Linked DNA regions of Homo sapiens: region 1 is linked to region 2. The links are contacts of gene promoters, found by promoter capture Hi-C in human tissues and cell types (Jung and others, 2019). All regions are on one chromosome and are shown on one strand. The core of a region is centred on a gene start or on the middle of the fragment in contact, and the rest is flanking DNA. Distances in the headings are between cores, read along the strand shown.

Region 1 (3,916 bases), core at 1,376-3,875, 310 kb after region 2:
GCTTCCAGATGTGTCTTTTCCTAGCCGGAGTGTCTAGAGGAAGCCACTTAATCTCTGAGAATCAGTTTTCTGTTTCATGAAATGGGTTGAGAACAGCTTGATTGCCTAGTTCTCAGGGCTCTTGTGGGATGCTCTTTGCATATGTGTTTGGTGGGGTGAGCTGTGCAAATGTAAGCTATGGTGAGGTTTATGGCACTTATTCCTGCTAGTCCTGCATTTCTCCCTTCTCACAGGAGCACCTGGGGTATGTTTTGCAGCTAAGTTGTCTACCAATTCCCTGACCATTCATTCAAACCTTTGATTTTTCTGTATGTCAGTTTCTTAGTTCAAAGATGGGAGTGTGGATCACTGCCAAGGTCTGTTTTTGGCTGGCACACACATGCACACAAACATGTGTGCACACAAACATGTGTGCACACACATACTCACACCCCTCCAAAATGCTAGAAGGAATCGATTGTGCAGAACAATATGTCTCATGAGGGAGTATGCTGAACTAAAATAATTTTGATTGCTTGTCAGAAAATGATTAGGCAACAGTCATTACCATGCCAAGACTGTCCCAGTCTCCATTGTTCCTAACAAGACCTGAATTACTCATTCCCTAAAGAGATGGTTGGTTTAGCAGCCGAAGGATTTTAGTGCTAGGACAGAGTCCCAGACAGCAGTGCCACAGTGATGGCGAGGGAGAGGAGTAGCAGGGGAGCGGTGAGGGGCACTTTCTGGAGGAGGGTATAGGGCAAAAACTGGGAGGAGAAGAGGGACAAGGTTCAATAGCGGAGTGCAATGGAGAGGACCGACACAGCCAGCCCGATTCAGAGCCACAGAGTAATGGGACCAGATGATCTTCACAGACTCCCTTTCTCCCATAGATCTTGCACACCATAGTGGAGACTTCCCATGTACATCTATGGTTTGCCACTTACAGAGTTACTTGGAGCCAGCTGAAGTTAGAGCTGGCTTCTCCCCTTTGAGTCTTCAATTCTGTGTTTATGTGCAGGCCCGGGGACCATGCCAGGCTTCTAAGAAGTCTTCGAATGAAAGTCTGCTTGGGCTTCTAGTGTGTCCAGATCTCAGTGCCACTATTATCCACTGATATTGATCAAGTGCTGCTCTCCAGGAAGACCCCTGAGGTTTCCTGGTCCATTGCAATGCATGCTGGGTACTCTTGCACTTGGATGGAAGTAAAATCTCCTCACTAAACTCTGTGCCACCAAAATCTCCTTCTCAGTGTGAATTGAAGAAACATTTTCCAAGACTTGCATGTGCCAGGAGCCAAGGACTCAGAGTGATAAAACAGGCCTTCTGCCCTCAGAGCTCTCTGTGGTGGGGCGCTTCCTGTGCTGTCTGGCTTTACACACAGCAGGCAGAATGACTTGAATTCGGCTGCTGTGCTGTCGTACAACATGCTGTTTAGGATCTTGCACATGATAGCTAGGTATTCTTGCTTCAAATCGCAGGCACCCCACTTACCAACTGTGTAGACTTGATCACGTTATTCAACCCCTGTGTCTCTGCTTCCTCATTTTACAAATGGGGAGAAAAATAGCATCTATCTCAAAGTTGTGAAAATTAAGCAAGTTAATACATATGTGCTACGTAGAACAGTGCCTGGTACATGGTCAGTTTTTGATACATGTTAGGTATTATCATTATTATCACCTCCAGAAACAATTTAAACTTCTCATATAAGGCTCTCCAGACACCTCTCATTGTCTTCCCTTCCAAATCTGCATTTATCTCTCTCTCTTTGCAGTCCAGTGTGAGGCTTGAATCACCTATCAAGCCTCACCTCCACCCCTGTGCTTTACAAAATGTCCTAGAGCTTCTATTTACTCGTCTCACTGCTCTGTGGGCTTTTTCACTCAAGGGCGTTTGCATGCTATCCATTGCTACCTGTTTTCTATTGCTGGTGTCTGTCTCCTGCTCTATCTTTGAAGAAAAGAAACAAGAAAAGGAATAACTGAGAAACAGAGAAAAAAAATGTCTCTCCCTTCTGGTTCTTCCAGACCACCCACTCATCCATCTTGTTCAATGACAGCTTCTCTTCCTTTAATTAATCACTGTGGTATATTTATAAAGCTTATATTTATGAAAGACCTTTTAATTTTTTAGTTATTAAAGCCCTTTCTCTTTGTCAGGTTGTAACTGAGTGAGCTCTGGAGTTTGGAAAGAAGATCTTAGAAATGGGCCAGAGAGCTCCTTCTGAGATCCAAGCACGGGGAATTGCACCTGCTGTGCATGGTAAGAGAGTGTGCTTGGTAGCTCACAAAGGCAAGGTGAGAATAGAAACTTTCATGCCTTTTTGATGGGGGTTATGAAATCCTACCAAGAAACACCAGGTATCAGATGTGGGGTCCTGTTTTCCCAAAGCCACAAATGCTTGAAGGAAGATCTTGTGTGATAAAATAATTACCACATGAACCAATCTTGCATGCACAGCAATTTTGAGAGCCCATCCTGGGAGCTAGGTGTGTAGTGTTTATCGTATTGTTGAGGCTCGTAAAAATCTTGTATGGCTGCAGGCAAGCCAAACCCTTGACAGGCACTGCATCTCCGCTGACTCTAGAAGACCAAGCCCAATTTCTTCCCTGTATATAAGGGGAAGTCTCTATGCTTGGGGTAGAGGAGTGTTTAGCTCCTTCCCTTACTCTACCTTGCTCCTACTTTTCTCTAAGTCAACATGAGTCGACAGTTTAGTTCCAGGTCTGGGTACCGAAGTGGAGGGGGCTTCAGCTCTGGCTCTGCTGGGATCATCAACTACCAGCGCAGGACCACCAGCAGCTCCACACGCCGCAGTGGAGGAGGTGGTGGGAGATTTTCAAGCTGTGGTGGTGGTGGTGGTAGCTTTGGTGCTGGTGGTGGATTTGGAAGTCGGAGTCTTGTTAACCTTGGTGGCAGTAAAAGCATCTCCATAAGTGTGGCTAGAGGAGGTGGACGTGGTAGTGGCTTTGGTGGTGGTTATGGTGGTGGTGGCTTTGGTGGTGGTGGCTTTGGTGGTGGTGGCTTTGGTGGAGGTGGCATTGGGGGTGGTGGCTTTGGTGGTTTTGGCAGTGGTGGTGGTGGTTTTGGTGGAGGTGGCTTTGGGGGTGGTGGATATGGGGGTGGTTATGGTCCTGTCTGCCCTCCTGGTGGCATACAAGAAGTCACTATCAACCAGAGCCTTCTTCAGCCCCTCAATGTGGAGATTGACCCTGAGATCCAAAAGGTGAAGTCTCGAGAAAGGGAGCAAATCAAGTCACTCAACAACCAATTTGCCTCCTTCATTGACAAGGTGAGTTTCTCTCTCATTGCACTGGTAGGGCTGCCGCTGGTCCACTTGGGATTGGTGCAGTCAAAACACAGTAGGTTTGAACCTCAAGTTTCCATGTTTACATGATTAAAAGGATGTTTTGTGGAATGGTCTCCTAGGAGATATGTTAGATGTATGCTTGTGAATGGTGTTAATGACTCTCTCTTTGACAAAGGGTTCGTGGTCGACCTAAAGGTGGGTCAGTGTGACATTAACATTTAAGTGCTTTTTATTCAGCTCTTGAGCGGAATTGGGACTCATATCTGTTGAATGAAGATAATAGAAATGGGGCTAACTGAACTTTCCAGGGTGCAAGTGAGAACCCTGGAAAGGTCTTCCTAACCATAGAAAGGGAGTTGAGTGTGAACATAGTATAGAGTGTTATTGTAGCAGAAAACATGTGGTCAGTCAGTGCCAAACATCTTTTGCTGTCAGAGGGGAGCTCTGCCTTCTAATAATTTTACATTGGTACTGGATGAGGCTAGAGTTTTTTTATACTAATATCTCCAAAAATCAGCTCTAAAAAACTCAGATAAACCATTTTTTTAATTTTTTGCTTAATCATTAATAGTGCCAATCCAAGGTTATCCACAACAAATTTCAAATCCAATTTTGAATTTTCCT
Region 2 (4,051 bases), core at 1,074-3,573:
CTGGTCTCGAACTCCTGACCTCATGATCTGCCCACCATGGCCTCCCAAAGTGCTGGGATTACAGGCGTGAGCCACTGCGCCCAACCTACAAACATTTCTTTCTTTCTTTTTTTCTTTCCCTTTTTCTTTCCTTCCTTCCTCCCTTTCTTTCTTCTCTTTCTTTTTTTTTTTTTTTTTTTTTTTCCTGAGATGGAGTCTCACTCTGTCACCCAGACTGGAGTGTAGGGGCACGATCTCGGCTCACTACAACCTCCGCCTCCCGGGTTCAAGCAACTCTCCTGCTTCAGCCTCCCAAGTAGCTGGGATTACAGGCATCTGCCACCATGCCCAGCTAATTTTTTTTTTTTTTTTTAATTTGAGACAGAGTCTTGCTCTGTCGCCCAGGCTAGAGTGCAGTGGTGCAATCTTGGCTCACTGCACCCTCTGCCTGCTGGGTTCAAGCGATTCTCCTGCCTCAGCCTCCTGAGTAAGTGGGGTTACAGCTGTGCATCTCCACGCCCAGCTAATTTTTGTATTTTTAGTAGAGATGGGGTTTCACCATGTTGGCCAGGCTGGTCTTGAACTCCTGACCTCAGGTGATCCACCCGCCTCAGCCTCCCAAAATGCTGGGATTATAGGCATGAGCCACTGCACCTGGCCTACCATCAGTTTTTTTTTTTTTTAAACTTACAGAGCTATAAGAGTCTAGTCAAAAGCAGTCAAAAATTATATTGAGCACATTGATTATATTCTTGGTATATCCAAAAATAAGAAGTTGAAGGGGCTGGGTGCAGTGGCTCATGCCTGTAATCCTAGTACTTTGGGAGGCCAAGGTGAGCAGATCACCTGAGGTCAGGAGTTCGAGACCAGCCTGGCCAACATGGTGAAACCCTGTCTCTACTAAAAATACAAAAATTAGCCAGGCATGGTGATGGGCGCCTGTAATCCCAGCTACTTGGGAGGCTGAGGCAGGAGAATCTCTTGAACCTGGGAGGTGGAGGTTGCAGTGAGCCTAGACCACGCCATTGCACTGCAGCCTGGGTAACAAGAGTAAAACTCCGTCTGAAAAAGAAAAAAGAAAAAAAAAAAAGAAGTTGAAGGACAATTGAGTCTTTGAAACAAACTATTTTTATAAAATGAGAAAGAAACAACAAAAAAACACAAAGACACAGACCACTACAAAATCAAATAACACTGAAAGTTCTCTATACAAAGCCCAGCATTCCACTAAAAAGGTACCCAGTAATCTTTAGCTCATTTTAAGATCTTTTAAAATTTTTCCAGCAAAGACTTGGTCTTAGCATTCTTTTGTATTTTGCCATCTAGCACAATATTTAGGTATTAGGTATGTTAGGTATTCAATAAGTACAGGCTGCTTGATTGGAGAATTATTGAATGATGGATTAGAAAGTGTGTGATGGATTGAAAAGCATGACCAAAATATTTTGCAGTGCCTTCATCAAAAGGTAGAGTCTATTTCCTACTTTTTGAATTTGGCATTGCCTTGTGACTTGCTTTGGCTAACAAATGTGTCAGAAGTGACAATATGTGACTTCTGGAGCCTAGACTTTGGAAGATTTTGTGACTTCCACTTTTACTCTCTTGGAACCTGCTGATACCAGGCAAGGAACCCAGGCTATTCTGCTGGAGAGCCACAGGCAGGAGAAGTGAGGTGCTTTGGCTGAGAATCCCAGCTAACTGCCAGTTATGTGAGTGAGGCCATCATAGACCATCCTGATCCATATGACTGTAGCCACTTAAGCAACTCAAAGTGAGATGAACAGAACTGCTCAGCTGAGCCCAGCTAAAATTGCAGAGTTGTGAGCTAATTATTGTTTTAAGCCTCTAAGTCTTGGAGTGGTTTTTTATGTAGTAATAGCTAAATTGACATAGTGCTGTCTGTGCAGTCACAGAATGTCAGCTGGAGGCAGAAGACAAGTGTTTCTTCTTTGGAGAGATACACTGTCTACCACGATTGAATTTTCTGCCTCGGCTGTCCTGTGTCCCAAATGGGTTGGGAGCCCTGTGCTGCTCCCTGAAAGAAGTGTCATTACTTGAGTATGTGGCTTGGCCCCAAACCTTCTAGGTGGTTGTGCAGCCAATTTGATGGGCTTATTACCTGTACTGGGCTTGAAGCTTGTAGAGAAATGGAAGTCAACCCTCTTCCAAAGAAGAGAGGCAGAAGGCCAGTCACGGTGGTTCACACCTGTAATCCCAGCACTTTGGGAGGCCGAGGCGGGTGGATTACCTGAGGTCAGGAGTTCGAGACCAGCCTGGCCAACATGGTGAAACCCTGTCTATACTAAAAATATAAAATTAGCCGGGCATGGTGGTGCATGCCTGTAATCCCAGCTACTTGGGAGGCTGAGGCAGGGAATTGCTTGAACCTGGGAGGCGAGGTTGCAGTAAGCTGAGATCGTACCATTGCACTCCAGCTTGGGCAACAAGAGCGAAACCCCGATACACACACAAAAAAGAAGAGAGGCAGAAGGCCGGGCACAGTGGTTCACACCTGTAGTCCCAGTGCTTTTGGAGGCCAAGGCAGGAGTATGGTTTGAACTCAGGAATTTGAGACCAGCCATAGTGAGATCCCAATCTCTACAGAAACCAACCAACGAACAAAAACAAATTAGCTAGGCATGGTGGCATGTGCCTGTGGTCCCGGTGCTTTGGGAGGCCAAGGGGGAGGATCCCTTGAGCCCAGGAGTTTGAGACCAGCCTGGGAAATATGGTGAGATTCCATGTCTACAAAAAATAAAAAATTAGTTTGGTGTGGTGGTGCACACCTGTAGTCTCAGCTACTCAGGAGGCTGAGGTGGGAGGATCATTTGGCCCTGGGATGTCAAGTGTGCAGTGAGTGGTGACTGTGCCACTGCACTACAGCAAGGGTGACAGAGCGAGACCCTGTCTAAAAAAAGAAAGAAAGGCACTGGGCGCGGTGGCTCACGCCTGTAATCCCAGCACTTTGGGAGACTGAGGCGGGTGGATCACGAGGTCAGGAGATTGAGACCACCCTGGCTAACACGGTAAAACCCCCGTCTCTACTAAAAATACAAAAAATAGCTGGGTGTGGTGGCACGTGCCTACAGTCCCAGCTACTTGGGAGGCTGAGGCAGGAGAATCACTTGAACCCAGGAGGTGGAGGTTGCAGTGAGCTGAGGTCGCGCCACTGCACTCCACCCTGGGTGACAGAGCAAGACTCTGTCTCAAAAAAAAAAAAAAAAAAAAAAGAAGAAAGGCAGTGAACAAGCAACACTTTTCAAGGAACTGAACAAGGACGCATGTGCTCAAGTTAAAGTATCTGTAAAGTATCTGAACATGGACACGTGTGCTCCAAGGAAAGTACAAAGTTAACCCTATACTAAATATCTGTCCTCACCCCTCCTTGAATCTGTATGACATCTTTACTCTCCAATCATCTTTCTACTTGGCTTGTTTAAATCTCAATATAGCCTAGTGAGAAAGAAAGGCAAGTGAGGAAATCAAGAGATTTGCTCAACATCACACAGCAGCTTAATCATGGTGCAGATCCCAGGCCTCCTGCTGTAGCACCCAGTGGCCCAGTGCTGACTACTGCCCCTAGCAGGTTCCATGGGCAACTCCTGCCCTCTGAGGACTCTCAGTCCAGGATGCATACCCAGGATGTATGTGTGAAGCAGGATGATGTTAGGGTGGCAATGCAGTGTCAAGGACAAGATCTGATATCATCTCTGTTAGCTCCATCAGGCCCGTGATCTCAGGACAGCCACTCAACCTCTCTAAGCCTCAGTTTCCTCATTTGTAAAATTAGGTTAAAATGATATCCACCTATACGTTGAAAAACTGTAAATAATGGTTGCCTCTGGAGTGGGTTGTGGGGCTGGGTGCTGGGTAGGAGGAAGACTTTCTTTTCATTGTATATCTTTATACTGCTCAATTTTATAATCATAGGGCAGATATTATTAATTCACTGATAATACTAATTAAAATACAAAAACTGCTGGTGCGATGGCTCATGCCTGTATTCCCAGCACTTTGGGGGGCCAAGGCGGGCAGAATACCTGAGGTTGGGAGTTCAAGACCAGCCTGCTCA

Evidence for each region. Contacts are between HindIII fragments. The study calls those that stand out against the background at their distance.
Region 1: a contact is called between the fragment with the promoter of KRT1 here and a fragment that was not itself captured in region 2, in 3 of the 25 tissues and cell types used here (aorta, mesendoderm cells and pancreas).

What each region holds. Positions count from the first base shown.
Region 1 is chr12:52,679,116-52,683,031 of GRCh38, reverse strand. It overlaps KRT1 (keratin 1), which reads left to right and starts at 2,625. Exons shown (of 9, transcript NM_006121.4): 1 at 2,625-3,274. The coding sequence starts at 2,684. The HindIII fragment of the contact is 20,482 bases long and covers 1-3,916 here.
Region 2 is chr12:52,983,819-52,987,869 of GRCh38, reverse strand. No RefSeq gene overlaps it. Among named protein-coding and RNA genes, the nearest start is that of EIF4B, 21 kb to the left of the region's middle. The HindIII fragment of the contact is 7,503 bases long and covers 1-4,051 here.